Linked DNA regions of Homo sapiens: region 2 is linked to region 1. The links are contacts of gene promoters, found by promoter capture Hi-C in blood cells and fetal thymus (Javierre and others, 2016). All regions are on one chromosome and are shown on one strand. Each heading gives the region's core, a stretch centred on a gene start or on the middle of the fragment in contact. The rest is flanking DNA. Distances are from core to core; before and after follow the strand shown.

Region 1 (3,768 bases), core at 533-3,032:
AAAAAAAAAAAAAATGAAGTTAGAAACCAGTTGGGAGTTCAGTGCAATCATGTAGGCAGCTTGTGATGGAGTCTGGACTTGGGCAGGGGATGTGGAAGCGAAGAGGTAAAGGGAGATTTGAAGTTGAGTTTGAAGGAGGAACTGGTAAGGAAAGAAGTGAGAAATTAGAAACAACTTAAATGTCCATCAATATATGGACAGTTAAACATAGTCATGCAATGAGCTATTACACAGCCAAAACCACAGTGATGTAGATCTGCACTTATAGACATGGATGCTATCCATAACAGATTGTGAAATGAGAAGGGCAGTTATAATACAATTTCATTTTTATAGAAACAATTACATGTGTTTGAGTCAGGGTTTAAATATGCATAGAAAAAAGTCTGGAAGGATATACATCAATACATTAACAGTGGTGGGATTTGGGGTGAGTTTTATTATTTTTTTTCCTTATCTAATCTCTAAATTTTAATCCAAACATGGATTGCTTTTACAGTAGAAACAAACTAAAAAAAGGAATCCAGGCTAAGTGCGGTGGCTCACGCCTGTAATCCCAACACTGGGAGGCCAAGGTGGGTGGATCGCCTGAGCCCAGGAGTTTGAGATTAGCCTGGTTAACATGATGAAACCCTGTCTCTACTAAAAATACAAAAATTAGCCGGGCGTATTGGTGCATGCCTGTGGTCCCAGCTACCTAGGAGGCTGAGGGGAAAGGATCACCTGAGCCCAGGAGGTGGAGGCTGCAGTGAGCTGAGATCATGCCACTGCATTCCAGCCTGGGCAACAGAGCCAGACCCCGTCTCAAAAAAATAAAAAATAAAAAAGAATCCAGTAAATAAAACTGACACCCAAGTCCCCAAACTCTCTCTGGAATACCACACTGTCACTCCCCGAAGAGATTCCCCTATACCCTTCTAAGTTTCCTGGCAGAACTAGAAGGGCTCATTGTTTTTGCCTATGTCTCCTGAGCCATTGGGTGGGGAAAGACAGAACAATAGTAAGGGGAAAAGAAAGGAAATGGGGGAAATGAAGGGATATGGGACATGAGCAGGGAAGAAGACTCATCTTTTACCATTAAAGTTTTGAGCAAACAGAACCCAAAAAGGAGGAAAGATCTGAAGGCTGAAGGAGGGTTATAGCTCCCCAGAGGCAGTGGCAGTTTGAGGGCTAAGAGGGAAATAGCACAGGCTGAGAAAGAGATAATACCTTGTAGGCGGAGGCGTCCACGGACCACCCCAGAAACCACTCCAATTACTGGATTTGCAAGGGAAAGGCCCTGCCCCACACACCCTCAAGAGCTGTTCAGAACTTACAGGGCTCGTGGATTCCAGGGTGGTCGCTGAACTCCAGCACGTAGAGGTGTCTCCCCTCCACGCTGCGCCCAATGCTGTAGACCCGCGTGATGCCGGGGCATTCGTTTTGCACCTTGTACAGCGTCCGCACAAGATCATCATAGCGGTGGTGGCGAAAGGTCACCGGGGCAACCAACTTGAAGAGAAGGAGGAGGTGGAGGAAGACTGAGAGCAGGTCTGACATCTTGCTGGGCTTTTTCAAAGAGAGCCACTGAAACGCGCCCCACCTCCTTAAACAACCTAGCCTCTTCACCCGCCAAAATCCAAGGTCCACCTAGCTTCCCGCTTGTAAACACCAGTCCAAATTGGAAGACGTTCCCAGCTGTCCGTCCAAGGCTGGAAATTCTTTATGTCGTTCTGGAATAGCCACTCATCTCTCCTCCCTCACTCCCTTTCTTTCTCTAATCCAGGAAAGCCTTTTGAAAGGTTTTTTGCACTTCCCCAGATGGGTAGTTTCACTGATTCTGGTTTACTGGTTAACTGGACTGTAAACAGGCTTCAATAAATAGCTGCTTATAACCCTTTGATTCCTGGAGAATTTTTTAAAACTTGGCCTGTGCCTGTTCCTTTTATTACAACTTTCAAAAAGAGTTCTCTGTCCCTTTTGATCCATCCCACGTACTGCTGCCTGCCTATCTTTCTGAAGCATGGCTGTATTTTGTCCTTTTTTTCCTCAAAAATCTTTCAACAGATGCCATTAAGAAAAGGAAAAGATTAGCCTCGGACTGGGAGAAAACAATTGTAAATCATGTATCCGATAATACCCCCATAATACGTAAAGAATCCTTACAATACAATAAGAAAACAAACAACCCAATTAAAACATGGGCAAAACATTTGACCAAAATAGATATACAAATGGCTAATAAGCACATTTAAAGATGTTCAGTGTCATTAGTCATTAAGGAAATACAAATTAAAACCACATGAGATCCAGTCATGGTGGCTCATGCCTATAATCTCAGCACTTTGGGAGGCCAAATTGGGAGGATCACTTGAGCCCAGGAGTTTGAGATCAGCCTGGGCAACATAGCAAGACCCCACCTCTACAAATATTTTTAAAATTAGCTGGGTGTGATGGCATGCCTGTAGTTCCAGCTACTAGGGAGGCTGAGGCAGAGAATCACTTGAACCTGGGTGGTGGGGCCTGAAGTGAGCCATGATCATGCCACTACACTCCAGCCTGGGCAACAGAGTGAGACCTCATCTCAAAAAACAAACAAACAAAAATCACACATGAAATATACTTTACCTCCACTAGAATGGCTACAATAAAAAAGACAGACAATAACAAATGTTGGTGAGAATAGGGAGAAACTGGAACCCTCATAAATAGTGCAGCCAGACCAGGTGCAGTGGCTCATGCCTGTAGCCCAGGACTTTGAGAGGCCGAGGCAGGTGGATCACGAGGTCAAGAGATCGAGATCATCCTGGCAAACATGGCAAAACCCCCTCTCTACTAAAAATACAAAAATTAGCTGGGCATGGTGGCACACGCCTGTAGTCCCAGCTACTCAGGAGTCTGAGGCAGGAGAATTGCTTGAACCTGAGAGGAGGAGGTTGCAGTGAGCTGAGATCACGCCACTGCACTCCAGCTTGGTGACAGAGCGAGACTCCATCTCAAAAAAAATAAAAAATAAAGATAAACAAATAAATAGTACAGCCAGTTTGGAAAACAGTTTAGCAGTTTCTTACAAGGTTAAATATATACTTACTATATAATACAACAGTTTCACTCCTAGGTACCTATGCAAGAGAAATGAAAACACACATCCACACAAAAACTTGTACATAAATGTCCATAGCAGTATTGTTCACAAGAGACAAAAAGTGGAAACAACCCAAATGTCCATTAACCACTGAGCGGATAAACAAAATATGGCATATCCATACAATGAAATAGTATTTGACAATAAAAAGGAGTGGAGTGCTAATATATTGTACAATGTGAATGAATCTTACACATGCCTGGTAAAAGAAGCCAGACCCAAAACACCACAAGTGGACACAAAATTTCTTTTTAGAGTGATAGAAATGTTCTAAAATTAGATTGTGGTGATGGTGATGTCTATACAACTCGATAAATATACTAAAATTCATTGAATTGCATACTTAAAACAGATGAATTCTATGATATGCAAATTGTATCTCAATAAAGCTGTTTTTAAAAGGGAATAAAAAATAAGTACAGCCCTCTGAAAGAATTAAATATAAATTTACCATACAACTCAACAATTCCATTCCTGGGTATGTACCCAATAGAACAAACTTGCCCACAGAATGTTCACAGCAGCATTATTCATAATAGGCAAAAAGTAGAAACTACCTAAATGTCTATCAACTGGTGAATAAATAAAATATGATATAACCATACAATTGAACACTATTCAGCAAAAAAAAGAATAAAATGCGA
Region 2 (3,768 bases), core at 327-2,826, 280 kb before region 1:
ATCTGGACTTTGTCTGAAGTCTGATTGCCAGCGGAAGATTTTGAGCAGAGGAGTAATGAGACTGGATTCATGCTGTGAAAAGCTTACTTGGGCGGCTCCCCAGAGGATGGATCGTTGTGGGCAAGAATGGAAGCTAGAAGGGAGGCCAGGGCAGTTGTCCTGGCAAGGGAGACCCATCAGATGGGACCTCAGTGAAAGACATTGTGAGAGAGTATCACTGGTAGGCTGAGAAGCTGGAATTTGGGGCAAGATGAGACTCAGGAGGACATAATGAGGAGGCCAAAGCATAGACAGAGGCTGGTGACTGAGTCGTAATGCCCCATGTATTAGTTTCCTAGGGCTGCCATGATAGAGTACCACAACTGGATAGCTTAAAACAGAAATGTACTGTCCCCAGCTCAGGAGGCCAGAAGGCTGAAGTCAAGATATCAGACTCGCTCCCGCTGAAACCTGGAGGGGAAAATCCTCTCTTCCACCTTCTAGTGTTCCCCAGCAATGCTTGGCATTCCTTAACTTCTGGATGCATCACTCTGACCTCTGCCTCCACCATCACAGGACCATCTTCTCTCTGTGTCTGTCTCTTCTCTTCTTGTAAAGATATCAATCATACTGCATTAGGGCCCCAGTGACCTCATCTTAATTTGGTTACATCTGCAAAGACCTTCTTTCGAAATAAGGCACATTTTAAGGTATTGGGGGTTAGGGCTTCAACATAGCTTTTGGGGGTGGGGATACAATTCAACCCATAACATCTCACAGCAACCATGAAAAGAACAAGCATGAAAAGAACAGAAAGGACCTCTCAGCATCATGCCCAGGCCCTTCACTCTCAGGACTGCCCCTCAGGCCCCCACGCAGATGGGTCTCTCTTTTTACATGGGACTCTTACCAGCTTAGTTGCCTGGTTTTCTAATCTAAAATAGATTACAAGTATCAGTTAGGAGCGGGAGAGTGGAACAGTGAAGGCAGCTAGAAGGGCAGAAGCAACTAGGCCAGGGAGAGATGATCAAAACCTGTACAGAGAAGGCCACGGGGCTCACAGGCTGACCACCCTGGAGCTGCTCAGGCCAGTAACAGACATAACTCTGTGGACACTGTTGTTTGGTTTTGTACCTAGGAAGATGTTGAAAAGAAAAAAAAGAAGTCTGGGACCAAAAAAGATGTTCCAAAATCCTGGTTGATGAAGGCTCTGTTCAAAACTTTCTACATGGTGCTCCTGAAATCATTCCTACTGAAGCTAGTGAATGACATCTTCACGTTTGTGAGTCCTCAGCTGCTGAAGTGAGTCTCCAGGCCTCAGATGGTCCTTTCAGGGCCTCCTCTGCCACCCTCCTTTTTGCCACTGTGTATGCAAGCAGGAGCTTTTCTTAAATTCCCATTTTTTAAAAATGCTCGTAATTTTCTTCCACCTTAACCTTACAGCATTGTGTTCATGAAGACCGCAGGCAGTTTTCAAGATGTATGATGATATGTACTTTAGCCTCTCTCTTTTCCATGTCTGTCTCCTCATAGGGGGCCGGGTAATTGTTAGGGGCTGTTTCTTGTTAAACTGCTAAGGGCTGAGCCAGATCCAAGTGGCGGGTAGCATACCCCTGGAGAGTAACTGACTTCATCTCTCCATCGCAGCCTTCCACGGGAGGTTCAGGTTAATCTTGACAAGACTTCACAATCTGTCATGACCTGTGGAGTGAACCACCTGCAGGGAAAGACAGGGCCAAAGCATTGCAGTGACAGCTAGGTGGAGCATTTCTGTCATTATCCATTCTCACAGCCATGGGTTATCAACCCTAAGCTCTTGCTGCTCATCTCCAAGTAAAAGCCAGAACGCCAGGCTGGACATGGTGGCTCATGACTGTAATCTCAGCAGTTTGGGAGATTGAGGCAGGAAGATTGTTTCAGGCCAGGAGTTAGAAACCAGGCTGGTCAACATAACGAGACCCCATCTCTACAAAAGAAAATAGTTAGCTAGATGCGATGGCGTATGCCTGTAGACCCAGCTATTTAGGAGGCTGAGGTGGGAGGATCACCTAAGCCCAGGAGTTCGAGGCTTAATGAACTATGATCCTGCCACTGCACTCCAGCCTGGGCAACAGAGTGAGACCCTGTATCAAAAACAAAACAAAACAGAAAGGACACTGGTAAAACTGTAGACTTAGGTCTTTCAAAGGCTTTGGACAATTCTGGTCACTTTTGTTACCTACAGTGTAAAGATAGTGTAGTCTAGCTGGCTGTGCATGAGGAGAGAGGCATCCTTGGAGGCCTTATGGGTATAACTAACTTGGCTTTTCTCTGGCAGATTGCTGATCTCCTTTGCAAGTGACCGTGACACATATTTGTGGATTGGATATCTCTGTGCAATCCTCTTATTCACTGCGGCTCTCATTCAGTCTTTCTGCCTTCAGTGTTATTTCCAACTGTGCTTCAAGCTGGGTGTAAAAGTACGGACAGCTATCATGGCTTCTGTATATAAGAAGGTAAGCAGAATACGGCAGGTATCACCAAAGAAAATCCCCTCAGTAAATATGAGCATTGATTCCAAGGTTGAGGAAAATGTGATGGAAATGGTAACTTATCTCAACACTTAATGTTGACTGGCCATACAGCCTCCTTTAGATGTTTCTTTGGAAATTAGATTTTGAGAAGTGTGTTCACAGACAATGGGTGGAGAGGCCAGGAGGGAAAACGTACTCCCCAGGGAGAAGCCTGCAAGCTGTTCTGGTGCTCAGGATCCACCTTGCAGCCCTGAAGGCTTGGCTACCCATCCATCTCTTCCTGCCTCTCTTGACAAGGTGAAATGCCTTGGAAAAGAATATAAGGTCAGAAAAGAAGCTGGTGAAGGGTCAAACTCTTAAAACCACCAACATTTAACTCAAATACTTAATGAAATCCAGCTCAGAGACCTGGTGTATCCATCTCAAATTGCAGTCTTGCCGGAGCTCCACCTCCCCAGACCAAATTTCACCTAGCAACTTCTTTTTCTAACCTTTAGTGCTAACCTAAACCTCCTCTGTCTGACTTCTTTTTTCAGTTTGTAAATACATTCATGCTGATTACTGAGTTCTGCAGACCTGGAAGCTTTTTCATTTCCTTAAGATGATTTTGCTCATCTTCCCTCTGATACATTGTTTGTTGTTGTTGTTGTTTTGTTTTGTTTTGGTTGTTTTTGAGATGGAGTCTCGCTCTATCACCGAGGCTGGAGTGCAGTGGTGCAATCTTGGCTCACTGCAACCTCCATCTCCTGGGTTCAAGCGGTTCTCCTGCCTCAGCCTCCCAAGCAGCTGGGACTACAGGCACGTGCCACCACGCCCGGCTAATTTTTTGTATTTTTAGTAGAGATGGGGTTTCACCATGTTAGCCAGGATGGTCTCGATCTCCTGACGTCATGATCTGCCCACCTCAGCCTCCCAAAGTGCTGGGATTATAGGCATGAGCCAACGCGCCTGGCCGATACATTGTTTTTAATGGTTAACTTTCTCAAGGAAACTGTATGTTCCTCATGTCCTCCATACCAAGATGAAGTCCCATTTTGTTCCTTAAGAAATGAAAATACAGTAGTTATGATCAGTGACTACAGGCTTGAGGAGAAAATTCATCCAGGAGGAGATAGGTTCCAATCTTTTTATAAGTTGGAACACTAGTTGACTTTCTTCCTTTTTTTCTTCCATCACTGGAAAGTTCCATCATAGTAACTTCTCTATTACAGTTCCTACTTTTCTCCTTTGCTTTCCTCTCTAGAAACACCACTGTGTCTTTGTCTTCCCTGAGTAG

The links. The method cuts DNA at HindIII sites, captures the fragments that hold promoters and counts their contacts. A CHiCAGO score of 5 or more calls a contact.
Region 2: a fragment that was not itself captured here is called in contact with the fragment with the promoter of CPN1 in region 1 in 1 of 17 cell types (naive CD8 T cells); the score reaches 5.4 in naive CD8 T cells.

The regions. Positions count from the first base shown.
Region 1 is chr10:100,080,087-100,083,854 of GRCh38, forward strand. CPN1 (carboxypeptidase N subunit 1) reads right to left here and starts at 1,783. Exons shown (of 9, transcript NM_001308.3): 1 at 1,317-1,783. The coding sequence starts at 1,539. The HindIII fragment of the contact is 7,883 bases long and covers 1-3,768 here.
Region 2 is chr10:99,798,090-99,801,857 of GRCh38, forward strand. It overlaps ABCC2 (ATP binding cassette subfamily C member 2), which reads left to right. Exons shown (of 32, transcript NM_000392.5): 8 at 1,118-1,281; 9 at 2,297-2,474. Among named protein-coding and RNA genes, the nearest start is that of ABCC2, 17 kb to the left of the region's middle. The HindIII fragment of the contact is 2,993 bases long and covers 81-3,073 here.